Regions from separate parts of the Homo sapiens genome. Here region 1 is linked to region 2. The links are contacts of gene promoters, found by promoter capture Hi-C in human tissues and cell types (Jung and others, 2019). All regions are on one chromosome and are shown on one strand. The core of a region is centred on a gene start or on the middle of the fragment in contact, and the rest is flanking DNA. Distances in the headings are between cores, read along the strand shown. Region 1 overlaps EPB41L2 (erythrocyte membrane protein band 4.1 like 2). Region 2 holds the start of AKAP7 (A-kinase anchoring protein 7).

Region 1 (4,693 bases), core at 682-3,181, 210 kb after region 2:
TATCGCATGGCTTGTTTATTCTGGATGGCTTCCTTTTTTCATTTTACTGTATCCTCCAGTATCTTTTGAACAGAAATTCACTCAGTCTCTATAAACATCCGAAGTAAAAAGTAAGCTCTATAAACATCCAAAGTAAAAAGTAAGTTATTTTGAATATCTGTTTTCTCTACCTCAAAAAATCATTTCCTCCTCTAAGATTCCCTTCAGATATCATATTCTTGGCGCAGCTGTGATTTCTGTTAGTCACATTTACTCATTCCATTCCTGGTGTTCTGATAGCACTTTGTACATCGCTCTCTCAACATGTGCTTCATGTGTTGTTGCATTTTTGCTTTTCCTTCCAGATTTTGAGTTCGTTGAGGGTGGAGAGGCAGATGGAAGCTTAAGTAATGTGTATGTGCAATCAGGATCTCATCAAGCATTGAGAATATCTGTTCCCTGGAGAGAGAAGGAAAGAATAGTAGAGAAGCAGCTTTAGCATCTAGAAACATTTTGGTGTTTGTTAGATGTGGACTAGTGAAGGAATAGTTGACAGTAGAGTACTGCTATGGTTGGTTGAGGCATATTCCATCTCACTGGGTTAATTTTATTCTCACGTGAGCTCTGAGGTAGCTATTACCCTCATTTTACAGACAGGGAGACTTAAGTGGTTTTACTTTGTCACACTGGTGCGGTGCAGTAATAGTAAATGCTTACAAAATGTTGAATGATAGAGGAACTAGGTCCGATAGAGGAACTGGTCCAGCCATCATGCTGATACCTCATGTACTGCCAAATTGTAGTGGTGAGCTGTGTGGATGTTTTTTCCTCTTAATCTTGTAAGGAAATTCTGCCCATGAGGGCATGTTCCTATTTTTGAAATGGAAACCAATGAGAACATGTGAATTATTAGTAAGAGTTGACTTGAAGCTAGTGTTGGAATTGGAACGTGTTTTCTCCTTGAACTGAGGTGTATTTTTGTAGACATCAGTTGTCTTAAATATCCTTTTTACCCTAATTTCAAATAGCATCATAACCAATTGTTATGTACTGCAACTCTTTTAGTACTCACCGCACCTCCTGTGGTATCTGCTATCTGTTATCCCCATTTCACAGATGAGCAGATTAAGGCAAGCAGACGTTAAGTGTCTTGCCATGGGTCACATAGCTTGTAAGTAGTGGAAGTGTATTTAGAACTTTGGTGTTTGACATACAGAGCCCAATACTCTTATTCTCTATGCTGTATTTGTATATACTTTTAATATGTAGACAAACAAGCACATATCTATCTTAAACATGCTCAGTAATTTAATTGACTATTAAATCCTCATTGCAAACCTGTAATATGTATGTGACACATTGTTTTATTTTTAAATTTTTTATTATTTATGTATTTATTTATTGAGACAGGGTCTCACTGTCACCCAGCCTGGATTGCAGTGGCGTGAACACAGCTCACTGCAGCCTCAGCCTCCCAGGCTTAAGCAATCCTTCCACCCCAGCCTCCGGAGTAGCTGAGACTACAAGCACACGCCACCACACCTGGCTAACGTTTGTATTTTTTGTAGAGATGAGGTTTCACCATGTTGCCCAGGCTGATCTTGAACTCCTGAGCTCAAGAGATATGCCTGCCTCAGCCTCCCAAAGTGCTGGGATTACAGGCGTGAGCTACCATGCCAGGCCTTACACTGCTTATTATGTTGAAATAATGTTATCTGTGTGGCATTCTCCTTCTTCCCTTTACAATTTGATGCAATTCTATTCTTTTCAGAAATGTTACCATAAGAGGCTTAATAATAAAAATACCAGATTCTCCTCCTCAAGATACATGTGTGGGGAACATTAATTTTCACACACTGGATGAGCTAGTACACATTTTGATAGTGAGAGGGCATTCGTTTTGAGGATGGAAAAGTCTGATGGCTTTTTCTTTTTCACTAGCAGTGCATTGGTGGCTTTTATCAGTGCACCTGGGGAGGAGGCGTGTGTCTGACCTGACCTCACAGTTGGGTTGTTCCAGGGGTGTGCATCTTAATTGGAGATGAGTCACCACTCTGCTTATGTTTTGCCATTGAAGAGACAATGAGCTTTTCTTCTATGGCTGTCAAAGGCTCTTACATCTCTGTTCACAGCAGCTTCTTAAATTTATATATATATATTCAAGGTAAAAATATGTTAAGTCCTTAGGGGCAGTTGATTTCTTGTCCCACTTCCATTATCTTGTATTTTTAGAATTTATCCCAAGGAGCGAACACCATATCATTTTCTAGGAAATTGTAAATAGGAGCATAGCTCATATAGAAAATAAAATTCTATTCTACAGATATCATGGAACAAAAAATCAAACATGAAACCAAAGTGTTGATAGGATAAATTATGTTAGGATCTACTGAATAATAGGGCTAAATGATTTTCCTGGGGAGTAGTGTACTTTATAGATATGAGCCACCTTGAGGAATTGATGGAAGCAGTTTGAACATTTTTGAAATAAGAAAATGAACAGCTAACATTTCGCCTTTTTCGTCCTTTTTATGTCTATATTGAGTAGCAGTAAAGCAGACGGTGCTTGCTTATGCTTTTGTTTCAGATTTTATGCTTTGTATATGTGTGCAGGGTGGGAGGGCTAAAGTTAAAAAATTAATCACTTTTATATTGTTAGAAAATGAGAAAACAAATATTTAATGTTAATTTATAATAAATCATGTATCTGATATGATGTCTTAAATTTATAGCAGTCTTGGAATCTTTAGTACTTGAAAAGTAAAGTTATTATTTTTTCTCCAGAAACATGCCAAGGGACAAGTGTTATTTGACAAAGTGTGTGAACACCTCAATCTCTTGGAGAAAGACTACTTTGGACTTTTGTTTCAGGAAAGCCCTGAGCAGAAAGTAAGTGATTTCAAGTTTATTTTTATCTTTTTAGAACATATTGTATTTTTTTATTAACCAGTTTATCTCAGTTTAAAATTTAGCTTTAAAATAACTTAGGTGTTTATTATGACTTCACTGTGAAATTTGGTAAATACTGAAAAACTATCTTGTGTAGAGAGAAACCACCTGTAGCTTTTTGGTGTATGTGTATTTGTGTGTGTGCATGCATATGTGTACATGCTTTGCACTTACATCATGAGCAGACAGAATAGAATGTCATCAGTGGAAAAGTGATGTTCTGGCATAAAGAGAACACAGAATAAATGGTATTATTTTAATCACTTTTGGCTCTCAATCACTCAGTCTGGCCTTTCGGTACTAAATAAGTAAAGAAGCTGGTCACATCTGCTCATATTGTGCAGTCACCTGTATGCTAGGTATTAAAGCATACCTGAAAGGCAGGGAAGGCGGCACATTGGAACGATTCTGTCTGAGGATACCAAGAACACTTGGTCACAGTGAAAGGGATTACTCTCCATGATCTAACATTCAAATCACAGTCAGCAGAACAGAGCAATCAATAGAAGAACAGAAGTGTGAATTTTATTTGCCTACATTGCTATCGTTGTTAGTATTTACATGTCCTACTAATGAAATATAAGATAATAAGAGTGATAATTATATATACTTTAAGTTTTCTCAACTTGCTTAGCTTTAAATACTTGATATCTAATTTGTGGTTTAATTCTTTGTTTAGACTAAAGACAGTTAAATTACATGCCTGCCTGCTGAATACTACATGAGTATTCTTAATAGAACTCTGTTTAGAGTACTGTTTTCAGACGTAATAGCACATTTGACTGAATAAACTAGGTTTTTTAGACTGTAAATTATAAGGTGGTCTTGATAATGTTTCCAATTATGTGCTCTTCTGTTTGTCCTAAAAGCTGCAAAAGAGAAAGTGGTGGGAATTTGGCTAGGATTACCTCCTTTTTTTGAGATCACATACTGGTAGATTCATAGGAGCATATAATATAATCTTTGTAAAGTAGAGGGACAATTCAGTATGTTGTACAATATGTAGAATAACATGTTCTCTTAGTAGGCATAGGATATACTACATTAAGAAATCTGGGCTAAGCGTGGTGGTTCATGCCTGTAATCCCAGCACTTTGGGAGGCCGAGGCGGGCGGATCACTTGAGGTCAGGAGTTCAAGACCAGCCTGGCCAACATGGTGAAACCCCGTCTTTACTAAAAATACAAAAATTAGCCGGGCATGGTGGTGGGCACCTGTAATCTCAGCTACTCGGGAGGCTGAGGCAGGAGAATCACTTGAACCCAGGAGGCAAAGGTTGCAGTGAGCCAAGATCACGCCACTGCACTCCAGCCTGGATGACAGAGTGAGACTCTGTCTCAAAAAAAAAAAAAAAAGAAAAGAAATCTGATATTTTTGAAATACTAGTTTTGCATAAGAAAAGGTAGTATTTAGTAGTATTTATTTAGATAGTAGGATATACTGTTTTTTTATTTTGACAACTCTCAATTTATGTCAATTCAGCTTTCACTGAATCTCAGACTCATATTCTTAATTGCCTACTGGATGTAGGAGTTGGCAATTCCCTCTGTCTGTCATCTACACATTTAGTACACACCTTGTTTGTTACTCTTTCTCCCCATTATTCTATGAATTCCTCGAGGGTAGAGGCCATGACTTACTTATCTGTATAGCCTCCGTATATGTAGACATTAACTGCTATTTATTACGTGTGTGTTATATCACACCTATAAGGATCTCCACTCTCATGAAAATAGAAAATAGCAAGTGTTGGCAAGGATGTGGAG
Region 2 (4,488 bases), core at 1-2,500:
GTTAATAGTGTCCGAAAATGGATGAAAGGAGGAAGTAACCTCCACAAACATCTTAAACTTTATGAGTAAGGAAAATATACAGATATGCTAACAGGATCCTGAATTGCAAAGCCACGGCACTTAAACAAGGAACTGGAGTATGGCTCTTTTCTCCTTAACAATTTCCATTCCCATGCATTTCCTAAATGCAAAAACTCACTGTCATCATTCACTTAACAATTGTCAACATATTCACACGATTAACTGCTATTTATATAGTACACTTTAACGTTTTTATGCTTTTTATACTCTTCTATGAGTTTATCCTATGAAACTCTTGCAGAGGAGCACCTTTTCTCTAATTGGTTTGCGGACCCTTTTACCGAAAGTCCACCCCTAACTCGCTCTATCACAAAGTTCAGTTCACAACAAACGCTGACCTAAACTGGAAATTCATTCCGGGCGCTAGTGTAGACTTGGCGCCAGTTTTAAAAGCGGTCATGTCCAAACCTGGCAGAAAATCCTAAATGAGACAGTATGGTGGTTCGGGTGCTTAATATTTGTGATATAAGATAAAATCGAAATTTTACTAGGTTTTGTTTACATTTACCCACATCAACACCGTCGGAAGGAATGTGTACTGGCATGAACTTTGTGCAAAGGGTCACAGGATGAGAAAGGGAGAAAGAAAAGTGAAACTCGGGGATGGGCTCATACCCCCGCCTCCTGTCGGACCCACAATGCGTGCATTAAAACGCTTCGCTACAGGCAGCACTGATGTACACCCCGGTTGCACCGGGCTTCTCGGTGCTACCCTGAGTCCTTTTGGGAAGGAGGGAGACTCGGAGAAGGGCCGGCGCGGGTCAGGCCCTCCCAAAGTTCGAGCGCAGAGCAGGCCCAGGCCCCCGCGGCTCCTGTCGCCCCCGCCCCGGCCCGCTGGACAGCCCGGTCTCACCCGCTTCGGGGCGCTCCATGGTCGCGGCGCATGCGGGCGGCGCGTCTGGGCTGGCGGCAGCGGCGGTGGCGGGCCGCGTCCCGGGGCTGGAGGCGAGGCCGAGGCGGAGGCCAGGGCGGGGCTCGGGGCCTGAGGGCGGTGCGCTGGGCCGGCGCGGGGTCCAGCGACAGGCTGCGGGGGCCCGGGCGGCGGAGGCCAGGCCTGCGGAAGCGCGGAGCTTCCCAAGCCGCAGCCCCCGCGGCAGCGGCAGCAGCGGCGGCGGCAGCCGCAGCAGCCGCAGCACCCGCATGCCAGGCCGGACGCCGGAACAAGCCAGAAGGGGCCGACCCGAGTCGCCGGTGGTACCCGGATTCGGGCGAGAGGCGCGGACGCGCTCGGGCAGGGCGGGGGAAACTAGGGCCGGCGACTGCGGCGTCACGGCAGCCCAGGTCGTCTCGACTCTGCAATGCGACGCTGGGTCTTCGCCTGCCTGCCGAGCCCCGCGGCCTCCGACGGCCTTTGGCAGCCCTCATTTATTTCCCGTGGCGCAGCCTTGCCCCTCCCACGCTTTCAAGGGCGAGATTGGGACTAGGATGAAAGAATTCTCTGGCCTGGTGTCTTTTGAGAATCCATGTGCTTAGTTTTGCAATCAGGGTTCTGATTGCAGAATATTTGGGAAGAGCGAAATGTACAAGAACGAGACCTTGTACTTCTGTATAATGAGATACTTTATTTACCTTACTTTTAAAAACTGCAAATTGTGACAAAGTCTCTAATTTTTAACAATGATGTTATGTTTAGACATTAAGAGGAAACCAGTTGCTGGTTCTTGTAGTATAAGGTACTGCAGTGAGTAAATTGGGAGAAAAAGAAATTTACTTAGTTTAAAAAAATAAAAACCTTTCACTTGAAACGGAATGCTATTGGGATTGGTTTTAGTGCGAAGAAACCAGGGGTTAAGAACATTAGGTGCATCCGTCCACAAATTAGCGCCTTTCGTGAATAATAACACTTCGCTTATGTTGAATGCATCGTAGAATAGGGATGGAAGAAAAGAAGACCCCTACACAGCCACAACAGCTGGCGTAAAGGCTGCACACTAGAAGTCGGCAAACTAGTTACTCTGATTTTCAAATAATTCTAACACGTTGAGTTTCTGATGCCCATTTATGGGCTGGTAGGAAAGTACAACCAGTTCCCCTAATATTTATTTAATGCTTGAGCTCTGTGCTGAGGATGTGCAGGTAAGACAGGTCTTTTACTTATGGAGCTGATCATATAATAGCAGAGAAAGAAACATAAGTAACTGCGGAAATAAAAGCTGCAAAAATGTGGTCCACATTCATAGTGAAGAGGATGAGAATATGCCACCCCAAATATGCCACTTCAGCATAAGGATTATTCTTGAGCTTAAAACAGTTCAGAAACTAAAGACTCAGGAACAACTTTGACCTCCCCCTTTCTGCCTAAAAGCAGGACATAAATTTCCCTTCGTAAAGGTGACATAAATTTTTATTTTTAAAGCTTTACCAGGCCGGGCCCAGTGGCTCACGCTTGTAACCCCAACACTTTGGGAGGTCAAGGCGAGTGGATCACTTGAGTCCAGGAGTTTGAAACCAGCCTGGGCAACATAGCAAAACCCTGTCTCTACCAAAAATACAAAAATTAACCAGACGTGGTGACCCATGCCTGTAATCCCAGCTACTCCAGAGGCTGAGGTGGGAGGATCGCTGGAGCCCAGGAGGTGGAGGTTGCAGTGAGCTGAGATGATGCCATTGCACTCCAGTGTGGACAACAGAGCCAGATCCTGTCTCAAACAAACAAACAAACAACAAAGCTTTACCACTCACCCATACCAGAAAGAGGAGAATGAGTCTTACCTGCATAACAAACCCATACATTTTCTAGTAACCTTCCCATACTGCAAAAAGGCTAAGCCCCCTTTTCCTTTGTCTAGCCTCTCCACACTTTATCATCGTTAAAATGGTATAGAAGCCCCCAGTTCTAACTGCCTCTTCGGGCTTTTAGTTCTTTCCTGTGAAGCATCTATGTGCATGTGTAATAATCCTTTTCTCGTCTTAATCTGTCTTTTGTCAATTTAATTTACACAGTCCAACCTAGTGAACTAAATGGGCAGGAGAAAGATTTTTCTTCCCCTGTGGTGTGTACCAAGAGATATATGGAAGTTTCATTCTCTTACCTAAGCAGAGGTAACAGCCCAAATGCCACATATTTTTCACCACCAGTATTATGAATACAGAGTCTTATCAACACCTACCATGTGGAGGAACATTTTAATTACCCAAGTCTGAAAAAGGAATTTTTCACAGAGCTTCTTTTAGAAATGACAGGGAGAAAGGGAAGTACAAGGTGAACCTTGGACATCTTCTTGTGCCAAAAAGCAAAGACAAATGGGGACTATCAAAAACACAAGGACTAGCGAGAAACAGCTTTCTTTGAGCAAATGGGAGATAATCTGACATCATAAAAGGATAACACCTGTAATTATTGTAACATACTGAATACAAAATCTATATACCCATAATAATACTCAAAAAATGAGGAAGAAAAACTAGTAGGCCACCATTAAAGGTGACAAGTACGCAATTCCTTAGTCTCCTTACTCTAAAAATTAAAGGGAAAGAAAGATTTACCATGACTTTTTAGAAGTAGTAGTATGGGAAAGCTGCTTTGCACAGAAGAATTTTCAATAATAAATATAGGAGACATAAAATAATTGGAAAATTACCATTTTGCCACCACAACTGATAACTGATTGATGCAAAGATCATCAATATATTCTAAAACCATTACATGAAAGGTTAATGTGGACCGAAATATTTATAAGTTGCCAAAATACTACCCCCCACAAAATACTTGGTAATTGCTCAGGAGAGAACATATTTTTACTCCATGTAAATAAACCTGGTTGTCACCACCTTTATCGTGATTAAACTCAGCATCATTAATGGTGGACAATCTGTGAAAGCTCCTGTGAAAGCTATATCATCACTGCAAGGTAGTCTTGCCATAAATATTTCACCTGAAGCTGCTAAGGCTTTAAATATAATTTTCAGATTTCCAGAAATACAGGAGATAGAGGTACAAGTAAAATAACATGATGAGGAAAGAATCAGACCAATCCAGAATGTGTGACATTCTAGAAAATAATTGGCTCAGGCTTTTCAAAATCTCGGTGGGGTGTTGTGGTCCAGGAACAGTGTGGTAGCTTAAAACTAAACCCTTCCAATCCAGTTGTTTTGGCACTGTGCCAGTGTATATTGTCCTCTGGGGAGAAAAGGGCTGTGTACTAATAGTCAGGGAGGAATGGGCAGAACATACGGAGGGAGAGGGAAGTGTGGACCAGAGGATCCATGCCCTCATGAGTCGTGCTGCAGGTGAACCTTCGTTAAAGCATTGGGCAACCTGGTTCTTTTTTGCTTTCATAAAACAAATTAATACCTATGAATTCATCTTTTTTTTTTTTTTCTGAGACGGAATCTCGCTCTGTCGCCCAGGCTGGAGTGCGGTGGCGCAATCTCGGCTCACTGCAAGCTCCGCCTCCCGGGTTCCCG

The links. Contacts are between HindIII fragments. The study calls those that stand out against the background at their distance.
Region 1: a fragment that was not itself captured here is called in contact with the fragment with the promoter of AKAP7 in region 2 in 2 of the 25 tissues and cell types used here (dorsolateral prefrontal cortex and hippocampus).

The regions. Positions count from the first base shown.
Region 1 is chr6:130,924,780-130,929,472 of GRCh38, reverse strand. EPB41L2 (erythrocyte membrane protein band 4.1 like 2) reads left to right here. Exons shown (of 20, transcript NM_001431.4): 4 at 2,764-2,868. Among named protein-coding and RNA genes, the nearest start is that of SMLR1, 100 kb to the right of the region's middle. RefSeq lists a silencer at 1-264. The HindIII fragment of the contact is 7,412 bases long and covers 1-4,693 here.
Region 2 is chr6:131,132,229-131,136,716 of GRCh38, reverse strand. It overlaps AKAP7 (A-kinase anchoring protein 7), which reads right to left and starts at 1,250. Exons shown (of 8, transcript NM_016377.4): 1 at 935-1,250. The coding sequence starts at 953. RefSeq lists enhancers at 623-682, 1,119-1,619 and silencers at 943-1,052, 1,203-1,292. The HindIII fragment of the contact is 8,304 bases long and covers 1-2,594 here.